6 separate regions of the Homo sapiens genome follow, and regions 1, 2, 3, 4 and 5 are each linked to region 6. Evidence: promoter capture Hi-C in 16 types of primary human blood cells and fetal thymus (Javierre and others, 2016). All regions are on one chromosome and are shown on one strand. Each heading gives the region's core, a stretch centred on a gene start or on the middle of the fragment in contact. The rest is flanking DNA. Distances are from core to core; before and after follow the strand shown. Region 1 overlaps RIPOR1 (RHO family interacting cell polarization regulator 1). Region 2 overlaps ATP6V0D1-DT (ATP6V0D1 divergent transcript). Region 3 holds the start of CTRL (chymotrypsin like). Region 4 overlaps CTCF (CCCTC-binding factor). Region 5 holds the start of AGRP (agouti related neuropeptide). Region 6 holds the start of GFOD2 (Gfo/Idh/MocA-like oxidoreductase domain containing 2).

Evidence for each region. Contacts are between HindIII fragments. The CHiCAGO score rates a contact against its expected background, and 5 or more counts as called.
Region 1: a contact is called between a fragment that was not itself captured here and the fragment with the promoter of GFOD2 in region 6, in 1 of 17 cell types (neutrophils). The highest score is 5.5, in neutrophils.
Region 2: a contact is called between a fragment that was not itself captured here and the fragment with the promoter of GFOD2 in region 6, in 1 of 17 cell types (endothelial precursors). The highest score is 5.1, in endothelial precursors.
Region 3: the fragment with the promoter of CTRL here is called in contact with the fragment with the promoter of GFOD2 in region 6 in 11 of 17 cell types (erythroblasts, megakaryocytes, endothelial precursors and 8 more); the score reaches 10.9 in erythroblasts.
Region 4: a contact is called between a fragment that was not itself captured here and the fragment with the promoter of GFOD2 in region 6, in 1 of 17 cell types (endothelial precursors). The highest score is 5.4, in endothelial precursors.
Region 5: the fragment with the promoter of AGRP here is called in contact with the fragment with the promoter of GFOD2 in region 6 in 2 of 17 cell types (endothelial precursors and fetal thymus); the score reaches 5.4 in endothelial precursors.

The regions. Positions count from the first base shown.
Region 1 is chr16:67,545,462-67,548,670 of GRCh38, reverse strand. RIPOR1 (RHO family interacting cell polarization regulator 1) reads right to left here. Exons shown (of 22, transcript NM_024519.4): 18 at 3,137-3,209; 19 at 2,811-3,007; 20 at 2,639-2,722; 21 at 2,440-2,530; 22 at 1,885-2,305. The coding sequence ends at 2,208. Among named protein-coding and RNA genes, the nearest start is that of CTCF-DT, 15 kb to the left of the region's middle. RefSeq lists a silencer at 1,371-1,665 and an enhancer at 1,615-1,674. The HindIII fragment of the contact is 5,451 bases long and covers 1-3,209 here.
Region 2 is chr16:67,503,612-67,507,017 of GRCh38, reverse strand. It overlaps ATP6V0D1-DT (ATP6V0D1 divergent transcript), which reads right to left. Exons shown (of 4, transcript NR_184227.1): 4 at 615-2,993. Among named protein-coding and RNA genes, the nearest start is that of AGRP, 22 kb to the right of the region's middle. RefSeq lists an enhancer at 2,181-2,290. The HindIII fragment of the contact is 2,646 bases long and covers 194-2,839 here.
Region 3 is chr16:67,929,996-67,933,394 of GRCh38, reverse strand. CTRL (chymotrypsin like) reads left to right here and starts at 1,533. Exons shown (of 7, transcript NM_001907.3): 1 at 1,533-1,594; 2 at 2,194-2,297; 3 at 2,396-2,475; 4 at 2,588-2,669; 5 at 2,807-2,987; 6 at 3,077-3,210; 7 at 3,300-3,399. The coding sequence starts at 1,543. RefSeq lists enhancers at 2,042-2,558, 2,559-3,076. The HindIII fragment of the contact is 4,510 bases long and covers 733-3,399 here.
Region 4 is chr16:67,565,677-67,569,083 of GRCh38, reverse strand. The region is part of intron 1 of CTCF (CCCTC-binding factor); the gene reads right to left. Among named protein-coding and RNA genes, the nearest start is that of CTCF, 4.9 kb to the right of the region's middle. The HindIII fragment of the contact is 4,800 bases long and covers 1-3,407 here.
Region 5 is chr16:67,481,979-67,485,067 of GRCh38, reverse strand. It overlaps AGRP (agouti related neuropeptide), which reads left to right and starts at 1,521. Exons shown (of 4, transcript NM_001138.2): 1 at 1,521-1,551; 2 at 1,667-1,799; 3 at 1,958-2,043; 4 at 2,250-2,497. The coding sequence starts at 1,670. The coding sequence ends at 2,432. It overlaps ATP6V0D1-DT (ATP6V0D1 divergent transcript), which reads right to left. Exons shown (of 4, transcript NR_184227.1): 2 at 740-958. The HindIII fragment of the contact is 2,406 bases long and covers 1,209-3,089 here.
Region 6 is chr16:67,717,854-67,721,155 of GRCh38, reverse strand. GFOD2 (Gfo/Idh/MocA-like oxidoreductase domain containing 2) reads left to right here and starts at 1,840. Exons shown (of 3, transcript NM_030819.4): 1 at 1,840-1,993. RefSeq lists silencers at 1,923-1,972, 2,033-2,082 and an enhancer at 2,443-2,522. The HindIII fragment of the contact is 1,149 bases long and covers 1,645-2,793 here.

The sequences.
Region 1 (3,209 bases), core at 474-2,973, 170 kb after region 6:
CATGTGCTTCACCTGGCTGTGCTCACAGTGCCCTCATTCCAGCTCCTGTCCCCTTCCGATCCTCACACCCACCCCTGGCTAGAGCTGAATACTAGGCTCTGGCCTCAGGACTCTGCAGAGCACAGAGTCTAGGGTCTGTCCCTTCCCAGCATTGGAGAGCAGGGATTCTTAGTGACAACGCCAGTGGACCCCTTGGCTGGGATGATGACATTTTTCCATCCTCCATTTCTTGCCCAAGCCCTGCTCTCTCCTGTGTACTGAGCTGTGAGCTCATGCAGGCTCAGTCACCCCCATCTGCACTTTCCCAGGACCTGGTCAACCAGTGTTCACTTCCTCTTCCCCCACCATGACAGGCTATGCTTTTGATGCAGGTGGATAGCCCTGCTCTACCAATGGGCCTCTTGTGGGGGCCTCAGGACTGAGGGCTGCTAGGGGCGGTTCTGGGATTGCCGGCCTCCTCCAGGGACCCCTGGGGCAGGCCCCAGCTGTGGCCAGCCTTGGGTGCTGGCCTGGTCTCCATCATTTGTTTGCCTCCTCTGCCCCATGCTGCTCCAGCTCACCACCCCAAATACTGAGCTGCACCATCCCGTGCCACCCTTCGTTACCCAGAGAGCAAAGAGCCGCGCCAGTGTGCAGAGGGCTGCCTGCCTGCCCCTGCCCACCCTCGCCCCAGCGTCTGGAATGAGCCACTTGCATCCACACAGGTGCTTCCTGTGCTTCTTCCTGTTGCCGTTTTTTCTGCTCAGCTTGGCTTCCCCAGCAGGTGGTTAAAGCCCCAGCCAAACCTCTTCATACCTAGCTCTAAAACACTGGGGGGCAGGGCTCCCTGGGGATCTGGGTCACCCTCCAGAGGACTGTTGGCACTTCACTGGCTCTTCCTGAGGGCAGGCTCCCCAACGTGACACGTCCTGCACAGGCCAAGCTGCTGCCACAGGTACTGGGACATCAGAGTGGCCTCAATGAGTCAGGGAAGTGCTGCGTATGCACCACCTCCTTGCCCCTGGATACTGGAAGTGCTGAGGGAGAGGGGAAGGGTGGAGAGCCTGTTTCTCTAGCCACGGGTGTGGGCCTCCCTCAGCCCCTCCTTAGAACAGGCCTGCCATCCTGAAGTCCCACCCCACACTCCAGTTCCTCACGCAGGACTCAGCCTTCTGGGGTTAACACATTCACTGGCCAGGCAGCTCTGGGGCAAGGCGAGGCGGGGCAAAGGCAAGCCCTCTCCTGGGATCTCTGCTTCCTGAAGCAGCACAGGTTGGCCGGCTGTTGGGGATCACAGAGTTCAGGCACGTTTGTTATTATAGAGGGGGAGACAGCTGGAGAGGGAAGGGACTTGCTGTCTTGGGTCACAGGTTAGCCATCCAGGTCTCCTGCCTCCCAGGTCCCAGCTCTTCCCCTCCGCAAGGAGCTCCTCTCCCCTGCCATCCAGCTTCAAGGAGCTCCTTCAGCCCCCTCTGCAGAAAGCTGCCCAGGCTGCAGAAGACCCAAACCTGGCATCTGCTGACGCGGATCTGCTGCCCCCTGGTGGGCAGAAGCTCCAGCCACCCCGTGCCTCCTTTCCCTTCCTGTTTTTCCTTTCCCTTCCCCTTTGCTCCCAGGCCACAGCCTGGGATTGGCACCCTTTGGTGTTTTCTGGGCCAACTCCAGTTTAGCTCCACCTTGGGCCGTAGTTCCCAGGCCCAGGGTAGGCCCCACCTGCAGGCTGAACCACCCTTTTCCCCTGCTCTCTTCTCCAAGCCCAGTTCCAGCCTCTGGGCTTTCTTCCACCTGAATTTCCAGGGCAAGTGCACATGGCACTGTCACAGCTGCAGTGTGAACACACCAGTGTCAGGCAGGGCCACAGCCAGAGGGTGTTGGAGCAGAGGGTCAGGAGTGTACCAGGCCATGTAGGAAAGACATTTTGCTTTTTTATTTTCTGTAAAACTCTGTAAATAAAATACAAAACCAAGGGATGTGGCTGGGCAGCGGCAGGGTGGCCAAGCCCCAGACACTGATTTGTGGCAAGGGATGTGCTGAGCCGAGGCTGGGAGGCACTTGACTGCAGGCACTGACTCTCCAACCCCAGGGGCAACAGAAGAATATATTAGATTTTCATTGCTAGGAATCTGTGGGGGAGGGGTATCTGGAGCCAGCCCTTACCCTCCCTGCCAGTGCCTGGTGAGCCCTGAAAGTGGGGGGAAAGGGGCACCAGGAACCCATGGGTGAATAGTTTAGAATGCTGTGCTGGCCATGCTGCCAGGCCCAAAGATGCGGGGCAGGGCGTCCAGGGACTCCTCCAGCCGTCGATGGGCAGACTGTCCCTCTTCTCCTGTAATGAGTGAGGATGAGGTCAAGGGTGGCCCTAGCCCCATCCCACTCTCCCACCCCTGGCGCCATCTCTCCTACTCCCATCAGCCAAGATGTCCCAGAACTCCACCCATCTCTTCCATCCCCCAGCCTCACCACACTGCTGTAGGCTTTGCCGGGCAGCTTCCCTCACAGCTTCTGTGTCAGTTTGGCAGAGGTACACCAGGGGCTCAATGCCCTCGGGAGCCTGTCAGGGGAGGGAGCATTGAGGTGGGCTCAGGGGAGCAGATGGGAGGGTTTCAGGGGTGGGGGTGCCGGAAGCGGACAGAGGGGTGGGAGGGTTGGCAGGGGTCACCTTGATGCAGCCTAGGGCCAGGCAGCCAGCCACTCGAGTCTGCACGTCCTCATCCTCCAGCTGGTCCAGGAAGCACAGGAGGGCCTGTGGAAGGGTGGGAGGACAGACTTAGCCAGACAGTGGGAGTCCAGGACCCCAGCCCTCGCCCTCAAGGGAGCCCTGTCCAACTCACCCTCTCCCGGAAGGTAGGGCCCAGTGACAGGCTCCGGAGCTGGGTGCTGACAGCAGCCATGACCTTGTTGTTGCCATGGACGAGCAGGGAGCTGAGGGCCCGCAGCCCGTCCCTTCGCAGACGCCCCTCGGGCGCCAATCTCAGGGCCTTCAGCACAACAGCCTGATCATCCGAGTTCAGATTCCGCACCAGTAGCACTGAAAAAAGGGGATATGGTGGGTGGGTGGGCAAGGTGGCAGGGTGAGGAGCCCCCGAGGTTGGGGAGGGCTTGTCCTCATGTCCTCAGACCCCAAGAGGCCACTATGTGATCAGGGCCACCGCCTCACCCTCCTCAGCGGTCTCAGTCACGTAGGCCTCCATGGTGGGGCTGTCCAAGGTTTCCACAAAACTCCAGAACTG
Region 2 (3,406 bases), core at 267-2,766, 210 kb after region 6:
GAAACGGCCTGTCCCAGGGTGGCTAGCTGTCACAGAGCAAAGGGTCTCAAACCTTTTGGTCTCATGACGTCTTTTCACTCTTCAGTATTTTTGAGGATTCTAAAGAATTTTGTTCATGTTGGTTATATCTATTATGAAAGGAAAATAAAATCTTGGGACCCCAAACTCATTATGTCAAAGGGAAAGTTAAGCTTGGGAACCACAAAAACTGCCTTCCTTTCCCAAACGGACAGCTGTAATTTCACAGGCTTAGTTATGTAAAATGTAGATCTACTAAGCCCGAGACAATGCATAGTTGACTCCCCCGACCCCTTTTCACATATAAAATGTAGAGTCACTGAGCTGCTAATCACAGCCTCACAACAATGTCACCACTTGCCGCCCTGCCTACCCTCCTGCCCGCTTTTTTCCCCTTTCCTCCCTCCCCTCCTGCTGCCTCTTTCCTCTTTGGAAAAAGCACAGGACACAGATCGTACTGTGACTTGTGTCTCTTTTTCCCCGGGCGTGTCCTCAACCTTGGCAAGATAAACCTCTAAATTGATTGAGATGCCTCAGTCACTTTTTGGTTCACACCATTAATATTTACCATGTGAGAAATTAAAACAGAGAAAATGTTTACATGTTTATTAATTTATTTAAAATGATATCATGAAACCATTACATGTTAACACAACTTTTTTTTTTTTTGAGAAGGTGAAGGTGTCTTGCTCTGTTGCCCAGGCTGGAGTGCAGTGGTGCGATCTTGGCTCACTGCAACCTGCCCCTCCCAGGTGCAAGCAATTCTTCTGCTTCAGCCTCTCAAGTAGCTGGGATTATAGGCGCATGCCACCAAGCCCAGTTATTTTTTTTTTTTTTTTTTGAGACGGAGTCTTGCTGTCGCCCAGGCTGGAGTGCAGTGGCGCGATCTCTGCTCACTGCAGGCTCTGCCCGCTGGGTTCACGCCATTCTCCTGCCTCAGCCTCCTGAGCAGCTGGGACTACAGGCGCCCGCCACCTCGCCCAGCTAATTTTTTGTATTTTTAGTAGAGATGGGGTTTCACCATGTTAGCCAGGATGGTCTCGATCTCCTGACCTCATGATCCGCCCGCCTTGGCCTCCCAAAGTGCTGGGATTACAGGCGTGAGCCACCGCGCTCAGCCAGCCCAGCTAATTTTTATATTGTTAGTAGAGATGGGGTTTCATTATGTTGGTCAGGCTGGTCTCGAACTCCTGATCTCAAGTGATCCTCCCACCTCAGTCTCCCAGCGTTGAGATTACAGGCATGAGCCACTGTGCCCAGCCAACACAACATACTTTTAATGAAAAATAACTACATTTTTCCAAACCAAAAAGAAAGTGAAAACAGTGGTATTGTTTTGTATTTTTTGCAAATCTCTTCAATGTCTGGTTTAATATTCTGGTTTAATTCCCATATCTGCTTCTATACTCAACCTGTTTCAACATCACATGTCACAAACAGCCAGGCGCAGTGGCTCACACCTATAATCCCAGCACTTTGGGAGGTGAAGGCGGGAGGATCACTTGAGGCCAGGAGTTGGAAGACCAGTCTGGGCAACATAGCAAGACCCCTCTGTCAGTATAAAAAACAAAATAAAAAAACACATGTCATGTAGCCTCTGGAAAATCCCACTGTACACTCATGAAAGACAAATAATATCTTTTTTTTTTTTTTTGAGACAGTGTCTTGCTCCATCACCCAGGCTGGAGTGCAGTGGTGAGATTTCAGCTCACTGCAATCTCTGCCTCCCGGATTCAAGCAATTCTCCTGCCTCAGCCTCCTCCTGAGTAGCTGGGATTACAGGCATGCATCACCACACCCAGGTAATTTTTGTATTTTTAGTAGAGACTGGGTTTCACCATGTTGGCCAGGCTGGTCTGAAACTCCTGACCTCATTATCCATTTGCCTTGGCCTCCCAAAGTGCTGAGATTATAGGCGTGAGCCACCGTGCCCAGCTGACAAATAACATCTTAATATTACCGTGAACCTAGTGTAGACTTTATGGATACTTCAAAAGGACCGCACTTTGGAAACCACAGAGTTAAACAATATCAAGTCTCATTGGCTTCATGCAATAAAAATGTACTCCAATGAAGACTGGCCAGCTTCCCATGGAGAGCTGGCTTTTTCCATCATGCTGTAAATTATACCATCTGGAATGCGTGGTTTCCAAGTTTACTGAGAGAGAGAAGGGGGCTGGTGAATCAGGTGGGATGCTTTTAAGGGTAGGGCCTGAGCCAGGCACACTGGCTCATGCCTATATGACATCAGCTATTAGGGAGGCTGAGGTGGGAGGATTGTTTGAGCACAGGAGGTTGAGGCTGCAGTGAGTCATGATCACAGCACTGCACTCCAGCCTGGGTGACAGAACAAGACTCAGACCTTTAAATAAAAAAAAGACTAGGGCCTAGAGGTGGGGCATGTCACTGGAAATGTCATCTTCCTGTGTGTCCAGGAAGAGAATTGGGTGTGGTGAACACTTAGCATCTGCTCCACCCCTGGGGTGATCGTGGCGCTCACATGATCCTGTGACCGGAAGCCTCCACAGGGTCACTTCATGAACATTTCTCATGTTTCTGCAGCATTTTCAAACAGTTGCCCTGTTAGTGACAGCAGTTATAACAGGTGACTTTGACTTCGAGCATTTGTCCCATTCAAATTAATTTTTCTATTTTAATTATAAAAGTAATACATGTTCACACACACAAAGCATCATTTCAATGATCAGAAGGACAAAAGAGAAAGATAAACATTACACCCCATGGAACCTCCTTGAACTGTGTCACCACCCGCGAGAAGCATAGTGAATTCTCTCAAAAAGTTTCTTTGCATCTCTAAGCTTACATCTACATCTATTTTTTGGAATGCAGTTGGGGTCATATTATGCATACTGTTCTATAAATCCGGAAGGAGGGGCATTAAGTAGACAAGATGATATGCAGAAGCAGATGGAAGGTAGAAAAACTCCTCTGCATGAATTCAGGGCTCCCTCTGGCTGAAAGAAGAAAAAGAAGAGCGTGGCTGGGGATGTGGCCGTAGAGCAATGACAGTCAGGCCTAGCCTCCCAGCAGCACGCAGGAGAGGCAGCCAGACCCCCAGATGGACTGCCCAGTCCTCACAGGCAGATAGGGTGTGGACAGCCTCACAAAAATGCCTGGGTCCCCAGCACTGCAGAGTCTTCAGCAAGTTGCTGGGCCTAGAGTCGTGACGACTAGGCATGGTGGCCTTCTCAGTGGTCATCTGTGAGGACACATAACCATGGACTAATTCCCCTCCTACCCTCTGCGTGGCATAACCCTGAACAGAGAACAAACACAAGAACAAACCTAGTGCCAGGAGTGGAACCCTGCCTGTTTTTGTATAACCCACAAGTCAAGAATGGTTCCTTCCTTCCTTCCTTCCTTCCTT
Region 3 (3,399 bases), core at 284-2,783, 210 kb before region 6:
TTTTTTTGAGACGGAGTCTCGCTCTGTCACCCAGGCTCTGGAGTGCAGTGGCGCAATCTCAGCTCACTGGAAGCTCCGCCTCCCAGGTTCACGCCATTCTCCTGCCTCAGCCTCCCGAGTAGCTGGGACTACAGGTGCCCGCCACCACGCCCGGCTAATTTTTTTTTTTTTTGTATTTTTAGTAGAGACGAGGTTTCTACTGAACCTGTTAGCCAGGATGGTCTTGATCTCCTGACCTCATGATCCGCCCGCGTCGGCCTCCCAAAGTGCTGGGATTACAGGCGTGAGCCACCGTGCCCAGCCAATTCATCTCATTTTTTGGCTGATGCTGTTTCTTTGAGATGGGGTCTAGCTCCATCGCCCAGGCCGGAATGCAGTGGTGCACTCATGGCTCACTGCAGCCTTGAACTTAAGGGCTCAAGTGATCCCTCCTGCCTCAGCCTTCTGAGTTGCTGGGACTACAGGTGTGTACCATCATACCCAGCTCATTTCTTAATTTAAAAAAATTTTTTTTGTAGAGACAGGGTTTCATGATGTTGCTCAGGCTGGTCTCGAACTCCTGGAATCAAGCCTCCTACGTCTGCCTCCCAAAGTTTTGGGATTACAGGTGTGAGCCACCACACCCAGCCCTGATCTGTTCTTGAATCAGTTAAAGCCCTCACACTCCCAGAAGGCCGCCAGCCAATGCACCTGTTGGAACTTTGCACACAGGGTGTCTTCTCCCTTCAAGCTTGGTCTGCAGCTCAGTAACAAATGGGCTACAGACACCAGGGGCTTGCCCATGGGAGCCCCAAGGCCTAAAGAGGGTGGCAGAGATTTGATGTCTGTCACTCTCCACCTGCAGCCTCAGTCCACGGTCGGCCAGGCACCAAGAGCTCACACTTTGCCCTCCTAAATGCCAGGCCCTTCATAAGTATCATCTCATTGTTAAGAGCGGAGGCTTCAGCGCCAGACAAATGCGAGTTTGTGTACAACTCAACCACGTGCTGGTGGGAGAGTCACCATCTCTGAGCAGACCTGTGACTCCTGTTCCAAATGGACGAGGAACCACTGCGATGATGTGTTAGGACTCCCAGCCTGCCAGAACCTCACAGCCCCTGGCCCTTCACAGCAAAGTTGACCGCAGTGAGCATTCCATCCACCAGTCAGAACACCCTGGACGCTGAGCGGCCTTCTCTGAAAGCCTGGTGCCTTTGTTAGCCCTGGGTGACTCCTGTGATCCCAGCCACCAGGTTGTCACTATAGACCTAATTTAACCATCTGTCCTCAGTACCGAGGGCTCAACATTTGGAATGGGAGGTGGTTCTGGGAGCCAATTAGAGGCCAGGCTTTGGGAGGTGGCAGAGGTGAGTCTCACACCTGGGCTCTGTCTGATAAGTCTAGGTCTCGGTCAGGGGACCTTGGCCTAAAGGGCCTGTCTTGCCTGGAGCGTGGGAGGGGGCTGAGTCTACACAGCTGGCCTGGCCTCAGGCCTGGAGCTTTAGCTCAAGGACGAGAAGACCCATAAAGCCAGACCCAGCTCCCAACCTCACATCTGCCACGATGTTGCTGCTCAGCCTGACCCTAAGCCTGGTTCTCCTCGGCTCCTCCTGGGGTGAGTGGGCCAGGACCAGCCCTGATTCAGCCCTGGGAGCAACTCAGCTCCCAGCAACAGCCCAGGGAAGGAGCTAGGCTGGCTGGAAGGGACGAAGGTGGACAGAGTGGGCAAAAGAAACAGGATATGCCAGGGCAGTGGAGCAGGGAACAGGCCTGCAGGGCTGGGAGGGGGCAAGAGGTGGGGTGGTCTCACAAATAGGACCAGAGATTGAGCCAGGCCCTGGAGCCCGGGAGGGTTTAGGAAGCTGAGACAGGAAGACCTGTCCATGTCTTTTAGAAAGAACCTTCTGGCTGCATGAAGGGTATGAACTGTTCAGGTCGGGAGGGGGCAGAGAGACCAGGGGTAGAGATGGGGAACAGCGGGGACTAGGCTGGAGACAGATGTAGGAGAACAGCAGGGCTGGGGGACTGGGTGGATAGGGATAACCAAGATAGCTGTGGGGCCCGAAGGTGCTTGCATGTACCCTGTTGGGGAAGGGGTAGTGCTGTACCCTCTCGACAGACCTCTCTGGGGTGCACAGCCTGGGGCACCCAAAAGGAGGTGGGGAAAGATGGGCTGAGGCATGGGAAGCAGGTCCTCATTAGCCCAATGGCCAGGCTGCGGCATTCCTGCCATCAAACCGGCACTGAGCTTCAGCCAGAGGATTGTCAACGGGGAGAATGCAGTGTTGGGCTCCTGGCCCTGGCAGGTGTCCCTGCAGGTACACCACCAGAGGGGTGGGCAGGGTCCTGGGTACGTCATGCCTAGGGGCAGCCTCAGCAGCCCACCCCCACTCTGACCTCTGAGCCCTGACCACAGGACAGCAGCGGCTTCCACTTCTGCGGTGGTTCTCTCATCAGCCAGTCCTGGGTGGTCACTGCTGCCCACTGCAATGTCAGGTGAGTGCCTGCATTCCACCTGCCCCGCCCCTCGCCTCTTCCTGCCTCCTCCCCTGGCTGTCCCCCTCTCGCGCTGGCCTCCCTGCAGCTGCCTAATCCCACCCCCTTGCAGCCCTGGCCGCCATTTTGTTGTCCTGGGCGAGTATGACCGATCATCAAACGCAGAGCCCTTGCAGGTTCTGTCCGTCTCTCGGGTGAGTGCCTGGGCTGCAGACACGGAGGAAAAGTGGGCAGTGCAGGTGGGTGGGTGCTGGGAACGAGGAATTCAGGACATGCCCTGGCCTACCCTGCTCAGCACCCATCAGAACATGGACTGTTTCTGACCCCACAGGCCATTACACACCCTAGCTGGAACTCTACCACCATGAACAATGACGTGACGCTGCTGAAGCTCGCCTCGCCAGCCCAGTACACAACACGCATCTCGCCAGTTTGCCTGGCATCCTCAAACGAGGCTCTGACTGAAGGCCTCACGTGTGTCACCACCGGCTGGGGTCGCCTCAGTGGCGTGGGTAGGGACTCAGGCCAAAGCTCAGGGTGGGAGGACTGGGGTGGGGACCAGTGTTCTGGGCCCCATGTGACCACCCCTCCTGGCCCACAGGCAATGTGACACCAGCACATCTGCAGCAGGTGGCTTTGCCCCTGGTCACTGTGAATCAGTGCCGGCAGTACTGGGGCTCAAGTATCACTGACTCCATGATCTGTGCAGGTGGCGCAGGTGCCTCCTCGTGCCAGGTAAGCCCCAGCACCCGCTCCTCTGCGCTGTCCTGTGGTATACCTCCCCAACCCCCCCTACTCAATTCTCCCTCCCTCTTCCCTCTCAGGGTGACTCCGGAGGCCCTCTTGTCTGCCAGAAGGGAAACACATGGGTGCTTATTGGTATTGTCTCCTGGGGCACCAAAAACTGCAATGTGCGCGCACCTG
Region 4 (3,407 bases), core at 686-3,185, 150 kb after region 6:
GCGGATCACAAGGTCAGGAGTTCAAGACCAGCCTGACCAACATAGTGGAACCTTGTCTCTACTAAAAAAAATACAAAAATTAACCAGGCGTAGTGGTGTGTGCCAGTTATCCCAGCTATTCAGGAGGCTGGGGCAGGAGAATCGCTTGAACCCAGGAAGCAGAGGTTTCAGTGAGCCAAGATCACACCACTGCACTCCAGCCTGGGCAACAGAGCAAGACTCAGTCTCAAAAAAAAAAAGAGTTTCCAAATAATATAGCCAGGTGTGATGGCTCACACCAGCAATCCAGCACTTTGAGAGGCCACAGCAGAGGACTGCTCGAGCCTAGGAGTTCAAAGCCAGTCAGGGCAACATGGCAAAACCCCGTCTCTACAAAATACATAAAAATTAGCCAGGCAGGCCGGGCACAGTGGCTAACGCCTGTAATCCCAGCACTTTAGGAGGCCCAGGCGGGTGGATCATGAGGTTAGAGTTCGAGACCACCCTGGCCAACGTGGTGAAACCCAGTCTCTACTAAAAATACAAAAACTAGCTGGGCATGGTGGTATGCACCTGTAATCCCAGCTTCTCAGGAGGCTGAGGCAGGAGAACTGGTTGAACCCGGGAGACGGAGGTTGCAGTGGGCCACCATCGCACCACTGCACTCCAGCCTGGGTGACAGAGGAAGACTTCGTCTCAGGGAAGAAGAACAACAACAAAAAAAAGGCCAGGCATGGTGGCTCACGTCTGTAGTCCCAGCACTTTGGGAGGTCGAGGTGGGTGGATAACCTGAGGTCATGAGTTCCAGACCAGCCTGGCCAACATGGTGAAACCCCGTCTCTACTAAAAATACAAAAATTAGCTCGGCACGGTGGCAGGCACCTGTAATCCCAACTACTCCCGAGGCTGAAGCAGGAGAATCACTTGAACCTGGGAGGCCGGGGTTGCAGTGAGCCCAGAACATGCCACTGCACTCCAGCCTGGGAGACAGAGTGAACTCCATCTTAAAAAATATATATATATACACGTATACATATATATGCCAGGCATGGTGTTGTGTGCCTGTGGTCCCAGCTACTTGGAAGGCTGAGGTGGGAGGATCGCTTGGGGCAGGTGGGGGACAAGGCTGCAGTGAGCCATGATCACACCACTGCACTGCAGTGTGGGCAACACAGTGACAACCTGTCTCAAAAAAAAAAAAAAAAAAAAAAAAAGCCGAGTATGGTGGCTCACACCTGTAACGTCAACACTTTGGGAGGCCGAGGTGGGAGACTTGCTTGAGCCCAGGAGTTCAAGACCAGCCTGAGCAACATAGTAGGATCCTGTCTCTACAAAAAAATAAAAGAATCAGCTGGGCATGGTGGCACACGCCTATAGTACCAGCTACTTGGGAGGCTGCAGCAGGAAGACTGCTTGAGCCCAGGAGTTCAAGGCTGCAGTGAGCTATGATCATGCCACTGCACTCCTATCTGGGCAACAGCTATGATCATGCCACTGCCTCAATCAAAATGTATTAAAAAAAAAAAGTTTCCAAGCAATTTGGCACATGAGGTACATCTTCTAAGAGGAAATCCATCTCACAATTAGCTAAACTCCACAAAACTCACTAATACTTAGATGAAGCTAAAGTCTCCTCTGTTGAGAGGCAATTTTTAGTAACACAAATAGGTGATTAGCATATTTAGTCCAACCAACACTTCCATACTGGAGTCCATTATTATTACCAGCATACCTCAAAGGGAATGAAATTTTCTACCCCTGAAAATTCCAAGAGTGACCAAAAACAAGGATCAAGTGTGAAAGAATACCATCCTAACCCTCACCTTTGGACTGTATTTTGGCAGTCTATATGCAATGCCACAACTTTGCATTCAAATATTAAATCACTGAGAAAATGCACAAAGATACTAGCAGGAAAGATACGAAGACAGACTACAGAAAGTTTACAGGTGTTTAAAAAAAATGGGCTGGACACGGTGGCTCACACCTAATCCCAGCACTTTGGGAGGCCAAGGCAGACAGACTGCTTGAGGCCACGAGTTTGAGACCAGCCTAGGCAACATGACAAAACCCCATACCTAGAAAAAATTAGTCCCAGCTACCCAGGAGGCTGAGGTGGCAGGATCATTTGAGCCAGGGAGGTGGAGGCTGCAGTGAGCTGTGATCACACCACTGCACTCCAGCCTGGGTAAAAGAGAAAGACCCTGTCTTAAAACAAACAAACAAACCCCACAGGCCGGGCACGGTGGCTCACGCCTGTAATCCCAGCACTTTGAGAGGCGGAGGCGGGCAGGTCAGGAGATCGAAACCATCCTTGCTAACACGGTGAAACCCCGTCTCTACTAAAAATACAAAAAATTAGCCAGGCGTGGTGGCAGGCGCCTGTAGTCCTCCCAGCTACTCGGGAGGCTGAGGCAGGAGAATGGCGTGAACCTGGGAGGTAGAGCTTGCAGTGAGCCGAGATCGTGCCCCTGCACTCCAGCCTGGTAGACAAAGCGAGACTCCATCTCCAAAACAAACAAATACCCCACAAGAACAACAAAACAAATGTGGTAAGACTAATCTTTTTTTTTTTTTTTTTTTTTTTTTAATTTTGAGACAAAGTCTCACTCTGTCACCCAGGCTGGAGTGCAACGGCACGATCTTGACTCACTGCAACCTCCGCCTCCCGGGTTCAAGTGATTCTCCTGACTCAGCCTCCTGAGTAGCTGGGATTACAGAAACAGACATATGCCACCACGCTCAGCTAATTTTTGTGTTTTTGGTAAAGATGGGGTCTCACCATGTTGGCCAGGCTGGTCTCAAACTCCTGACCTCAGGTGATCCGCCCGCCTCAGCCTCCCAAAGTGCTGGGATTACAGGTGTGAGCCACCATGTCCCACCTACAAATCACATCAATTGAGAACCATGGTCTTCAAAGTTACACATTATTTGCCATTATTGTTCTTTTTAAATCATAATGCATCTGAGTTGTTTGAAGAGGGGCCTAATTTTTGGCAAAACAGTCAAGTCATCTGGAGCCAAGACAGGTAAATTAGGCAGACAGATGGTCTAGTTTAAAAAAATTAGGTGGAGTCTATAACGTAGATGATGTGGAATGGCTGTGACAGCAGCAGCATCCCTGAAGCAAAAAAAGCAGTCTCTAGAGGTGACTTTTGGCCAGGAGGCACCAGCCTGCAAGGCTCTGCCCAGGATTCCTCCCCAGGGCCTTAAGTCAGCCACAAGTGGCTTCCACCAAGGAACTCCCCAAGCCATTCAGAAGTCCCAGGTGAGTGCCCCCATTTGCGTGTGTACTTTAAAATAAAATCCTAAAGCTCTTAGAATTTGAATGCATCTTAAGGACAACTTCACCTCTTAAATTCTTACATAGGTTGAATGGATCCCGATAAAGTTAACCTTTACAACTACTCTTTTTTTTTTTTTTTTTT
Region 5 (3,089 bases), core at 272-2,771, 240 kb after region 6:
GAGTGCAGTGGTGCGATCTCTGCTCACTGCAGTCTCTGCCTCCCGTGTTACAAGTGATTCTCCTGCCTCAGCCTCCCGGGTAGGTGGGATTACAGGCATGTGCCACCATGCCTGAATAACTTTTGTATTTTTAGTAGAGATAGGGTTTCACCATATTGGCCAAGCTGGTTTGAACTCCTGACCTCCAGTGATCCGCCCACCTTGGCCTCCCAAAATGCTGGGATTACAGGCGTGAGCCACCGTGCCTGGCCACCCTTTATCTTCTTTTCTTTTTGAGACAGGATCTTGCTCTGTCGCTCAGCCTGGAGTGTGGTGATGCAGTCATAGCTCACTGCACTCTTGAATCCCTGTGCTCAAGCCATCCTCCCACCTCAGCCTCTACTACAGGCATGCACCACTACACCCAGCTATTTTTTTATTTTTTGTAGCAACGGGGTCTCACCATGATACCCAGGCTGGTCTTAAACCCCTGGCCTTGTGATCCTCCCACCTTGGCCTCTCAAAATGCTGGAATTACAGGTGTGAGCCACCATACCTGGCCCCCTTCATCTTTTTTCCACTGCCTTGTGCCAACCCAGTTTGTGCACTGGGGCCTTGCGATCCTCTCAAAGCTGATTCAGCCTGCATTCCTTTCCCAGATGGACACGTGTGTGATAAACAGCTCTGCAGTGGGGTGAGGGAAGGCAGGGGCAGCAGGGTCCTGTATGTCCTGCCATCTCCACAAAAGGGCAGTCCTTACCCCAGCCTTGTGCTGATGAGACCAGGCATAGACAGTCCTGACGACACAGGGCGGAAGGGAGCAGCCATTAGTGCTAATGAGGCAGGCGGCCTGAAAGCTTTGTACTCTGCAGTGGCTCGCCCACCCAGGGAACAGTTCGTTCTGTTTCCTTGGCTTCCAGGAACCCTAGGCAGAAAGGGGTTTGGGGACAGGAGCAGGAGTGGGCGGTCTTGGAGAAACCTGGAGGGAGAAAGGGAGGGGAGGACCAGAAATGTAGTCAGGAGGGCCTAGGATTGGTTAGGTGGGCTTTTCCTTCCCCTTTCCCTCCAAAGAAACCCAGGTTCTGGTTCTGCACCTACCCCTGCCCAACAGTGGCCATTGGCCCATCACCCGCTCCAATGTCCTTGACCCGAATTCTTGGAAGCACAGGAAACAACATGCCACATAGGGGTTGAGTAAGCATCTCTGGGGCCACAAATTAAATTAAGCTTTCAGGGCCGCCTGCCTTGTTATTGCTAATGGTTCTAGCCCTGCTCAGCTCCTAGGTCCCTGTCCTGTGGAAATTTGTGGACCCTGGGCACCCTCTCTTGCTCCCAAATTTTAATCGGCTCCTGGAAACCTCACCCCAAATTGGAGATAGGCACTCCTCTTGTAGAACAAAAGGCTCAGGTTCAGGGAGTGAGGGCCTGAACTGTGCCCCCACCCTCCAGGAAGGGTCCTTCACGGCCTGGCTGCAGGGATCAGTCACGTGTGGCCCTTCATTAGGCCCTGCCATATAAGCCAAGGGCACGGGGTGGCCGGGAACTCTCTAGGCAAGAATCCCGGAGGCAGAGGTGAGTCCTCAGGTTGGGCAGGGACTCCTCCTCTCTGTGGGGTCTCTATCTGGGCACCTAGAGGGGACTCCAAGGATAAGGAGGGACTAAGTGGTACATCTTCCTGCTGAGCCAGGCCATGCTGACCGCAGCGGTGCTGAGCTGTGCCCTGCTGCTGGCACTGCCTGCCACGCGAGGAGCCCAGATGGGCTTGGCCCCCATGGAGGGCATCAGAAGGCCTGACCAGGCCCTGCTCCCAGAGCTCCCAGGTCAGTGTGAGCAAGGGTGGGACTGGGCGGGGCCTGAATACCCTCTGGCCACAAATAGTCTCCCCTGGCATAAACCCTCTTTCTCCCTTCCCAAACCCTCCCCTGGGAGGTGGGTGCTTTGTGCATGGGGGTTCCTGCCCTCACATCCTCTGCCCCAGGCCTGGGCCTGCGGGCCCCACTGAAGAAGACAACTGCAGAACAGGCAGAAGAGGATCTGTTGCAGGAGGCTCAGGCCTTGGCAGAGGTAACTGCTCAGGGAAAAGGGTAAGGTGGTGGCCCTTGGGAGGGGGCATTGGGTATTAGCTCCTCTCCCCAGCTCCAAACTCCCTCACCAGCGACGACACTACCGACCACCCCTTCCCATGCTCCACTGCCATCCTGCACAGGTTGGGACAGGTAAGATCCCTGGATCTGTCTTTAGAGGCCTGTGCTGGTTCCCCACCCCTGCAGGTACTAGACCTGCAGGACCGCGAGCCCCGCTCCTCACGTCGCTGCGTAAGGCTGCATGAGTCCTGCCTGGGACAGCAGGTGCCTTGCTGTGACCCATGTGCCACGTGCTACTGCCGCTTCTTCAATGCCTTCTGCTACTGCCGCAAGCTGGGTACTGCCATGAATCCCTGCAGCCGCACCTAGCTGGCCAACGTCAGGGTCGGGGCTAGGGTAGGGGCAAGGAAACTCGAATAAAGGATGGGACCAACCCCAAGGCTGTGGTTATTTCAAACGTGGCCGTCAAAGGAGGGAGGGTTCATGGAGGGGGTGGGAGTGTCACCAAGCCAAGAAACCACACATACTCTTATCCCAGGGCCTGGGCTACCCTATCATAGGAGGCACATACACGGGCGCTTTTAGGGGTCCTGGTGCCCCTGGGAAAAATAGAGAAGAGCCGCACTCCAGCTTTCGAAAATCTTGTACAGCAAGTGCGGGGAACGCAGGACGCAGCGTGGCACAGGGGCTATCACTCCTGGCTAACAAATAAGCCTTAGGCTCCAGGGCTTGCTGCTACTTCCACGCAAAGCCTGCCCCTCATCCTGTTACCAGAGGGAAGGCCAGGAGTGTGCGTTGTTCAGGTCCTTAGCGTTTCGAACAAAGAATTGAACAAAACCCAGAAAGTAACAAACGAATGACACACAGGAAGGAAGCAGACAGCTGGGATTTGTTAAAGCGAGAAAGCACTACGCAGGGTGGGAGTGGGCCTGAGCAAGAGGCTGAAGGGGCTCAGTTACAAAGTTTTCCGGGTTTTAAGTACTCCTTTTGCGGTCCCTGTCCGTTACCCCTTATCTGGATGAAGGG
Region 6 (3,302 bases), core at 591-3,090:
AGAGGAGGGATACGGTAGATCATGCTGGTGTCCACCTGAAGGTGGTACTGGAGACAAATTGGAGCAAAAGAACCCAGGTAGGAGGCTGCAAAGAGGGCAGGTTTGAGAAAGATTTAGGAGAGAATTGGAGGTACAAGATGAATAACTGAATGTGAGGGAAATAGGAGAAGCAAGAGACAAGGCAAATGCAGACTTTGGTTGGGGGTGATGGGATGGATAATAGTACCACAAAATAACACAGAACAGAAGGGGGCAGGCAGTGGCTAAAAGTCACTGGAATTGGGAGGTTTGCCAGTAAATTAGGGGAGGTTTGCCAGTAAAAAAGTCACTGGAATTGGGAGGTGGTCCAGTAAATTAGGAAAACTGTCTTATGGATGTTCACAGTGATCGCCACCAGCTAATTAAAAGCTCAATCCTGTGTTAAAATGTGTTGCTTAACCCTGCACTTTCCAAACTTAAGTTACTACAGACTGTGTCACTCAGCAGAATCTTACAGGACTATTACTCTATAGAATGCTCTTAGGGAAGAGGTAGCATAAAGGGGAAAATATGGGTTTTAGATTAAGCATAAAGTCCTGGTTCTATATAAGTAAAGCCAGAGTAGGCTCATTTCCCCCTAGACTAGTGGTTCTCAACTGGGAATGATTTTGCTCCCAGGGAGACACTTGGCAATGTCTGGAGATATTTTTGGTAGTCACAACTGGGCTTGGGGTGCTACTGGCATCTACTGGGTAGAGCCAGGGATGCTGCCAAACATCCTACAATGCAGACAGCTCCCCCCACCCCTGCCCAACAAAGAATTATCAGGTCCAAAATGTCAATAGTGCCACTGTTGAGAAATCCTACTCAAGAAGAGTGGAACTCCGAACAATGACTAAGAAACAGATCAAACAGGCACATTTTGACTCTGCCTTCCTTCTGCCTGGCTCTAGAGGATCCAGGAGAGAAAGGATAAAATCCCATCAGAAGAGGGGGGGTTTAGGGGTTACAACTTCTCATCACTTTGGAAGCCTTCCATGCTCCTCACAGAGGTGGTAGGAGTCCTGTCTCCGCTCAAAGCAGGGATAGCTCTGCTGCTAGTTAGCATATCTCAGTAGGAACTGCCTCACGCTTAGGTCAGCTGACATATTCTGTCACCACAGGCTGCTCTGGAATGATGGCTGGGAGATCATCCTAATGCCAGCTGAGTGGGGATCTTGATACTCAGCAGGAGGGTCAGACAAGCAGGGACGGGGGCTCCCCATGCAGATACAAACCCCAATCACATTTCCTACACAGGCAGTTTTATTCTAAGGTCTAACGGCTTCCTTACTCTAGCGGATAGTTTGCTATTTGGTGGGGCATAGGCTTCAGTAAAGAGGCCAAGGGGACTGAGGTTACAGTCTTGAAGAGCACTGATATTTAAGGAACAATCAAAAAACATCCAGAGGAAGAGGAGCCCAGACAGGCACCTGAGAAAACGGAAAAACGAGTCACTGGGGGTCAGGGAGCCAGGAAGTCCGACGAGTTCGAGAGAACTGGCCTTCTGCAGATATGTCCTTGTCCAACACGAAACCGTCTTTCATTCCAGGACAACTGAGGCTACCCACAGCTACCAAAACCTGGTCCCTGACGCCGGTCAGCGGACCGGAGAGAAGCCAAGCTTAGGAAACTGCCGCCTCCGCCGCCGGAAATGAATAACCTGAGCCTCCTAGCCAGGCTGCTTAAGCTCCGCCCCCAAAAAGCGAGCATGCGCAGCTCCCGGCTACGGCCCCTCCCAGCGCAGGCCCATCCCCGTTATGGAGCATGCGCAGTCCTCCTGCCGTCCCGCCCCTCCCTTTCCAGAGCCCCCAGTTCCTTAGAAACCAGGCGGCGCGTTCCCGGTGGCGGCGCCCTGGACTCCCGGGCCCGCGCATCCCCGCCAGCCTTCCTTAAGGCGGATGGGTGGCCCCCGAGACCCCGTCGGACCCATGGTTTCCAGTGCAGCGCGGAGTGGGCGATGCCAGCGTGCCAGGTGAGAGGCGGCCACCGGTGGCGGGTGAGGGCGAAAGAGGGCATGGCGCGGCCGGGAGCGGGCGCCGACAGGGCCTTCTCCGCGGCCCGGCGCCGGAGGTTGGAGGCGTGGACCCGCAGAGCCGGGGTTGGAGGGGGCTTGTTCCAACTGCCTGCAGGCGCGTGGAGTGGAGGGTCGCCTTGGGATTCGCCCTTTCCACCGCAGAAATAGGACCCGCAGGCTTGGTGGTAGAATTATAGGATTTGGGATCCTGGAAGAACCTGAGACATAACCCATCCTTTTACCAGATGCAAAAACCTAGTCTCCCCCGCCCTGTGCCGAGCGGACCACCTGACTGTGTGAGGATGGACGCTTTGTGGATGAGGATGTGTGAGGTGTAGAAGCTCAGACAAAGGGCTCGTGGGGTAGCTGGTTCGTCCCCTTTCAGAATGAGATGGGACTTTTGGGGATAAATCTTTAAGAAACGGGTGTTCAGTTGACAGGTGGAAGAAGGGACACCCCAGAAGGTGCGAGTGGCTCTGCCAGCTCCCATGTGCCCTATGGCCACGTCTCAATGGCCCTGGCCTACCTTTGTATTTGTAGCTCTGGAAGGAAGCAGATGGACTTGAGACAAAAGGTGAAGTGAGGTCTTCCCATCAAGGCCCTATCACACTTAAAAGGTGAGGGAGGAAGAGTGGACAGGGACATGAGGGCTTGGGAATGGTTGTGTGAAGAGTTTACCCTCCAGACTACAGCACGATCTAAAGAACAAGGCAGGATAGAAGAGTTGAAAGCTGTATTGGATAGGCATCAGGGAAGCTTATTTAACTGTCTTATTTATGTTCATTGTTCCCATAATGTTATCCTGAGGGCAAGAAAGTGGATGTCCTTTTAAATGTCCAGAAAGAACTAGGGCAGGGCACCACCTTTGTGATCTGTGGGGCCCAAAAGCCTCTAAAGGAATAGCCCTTAGTGTGTGGCCCTTAAGTTGAAGGGAACAGCATTTAATTTAGAAAAGGAAGGCACTTAAATTTATTGTGATATGGAGCAATATAGAGAAGATGGTTGTTTTTGAGTCGGGGAAGCTAGATTCATTCTTGATAAGGAAACTTATTTCCTTCTGGAAAGCTACACTAGAGAACAAAAGAGTTTTAAGGCCATCCATTTTACAGGAAACGTGAAAAAATTAACTGCTTTGGGATTGGGAGTTTAGAGAACCTGCCTGGACCAAGAGAGGAAATTTTCAACAGACGGTTCTGTTGGTCGAATCCTTATTTCACAGATAAAGATTCTGTTGTGAGAGGTTATCTCTTACCACCTGGTTTTCCCA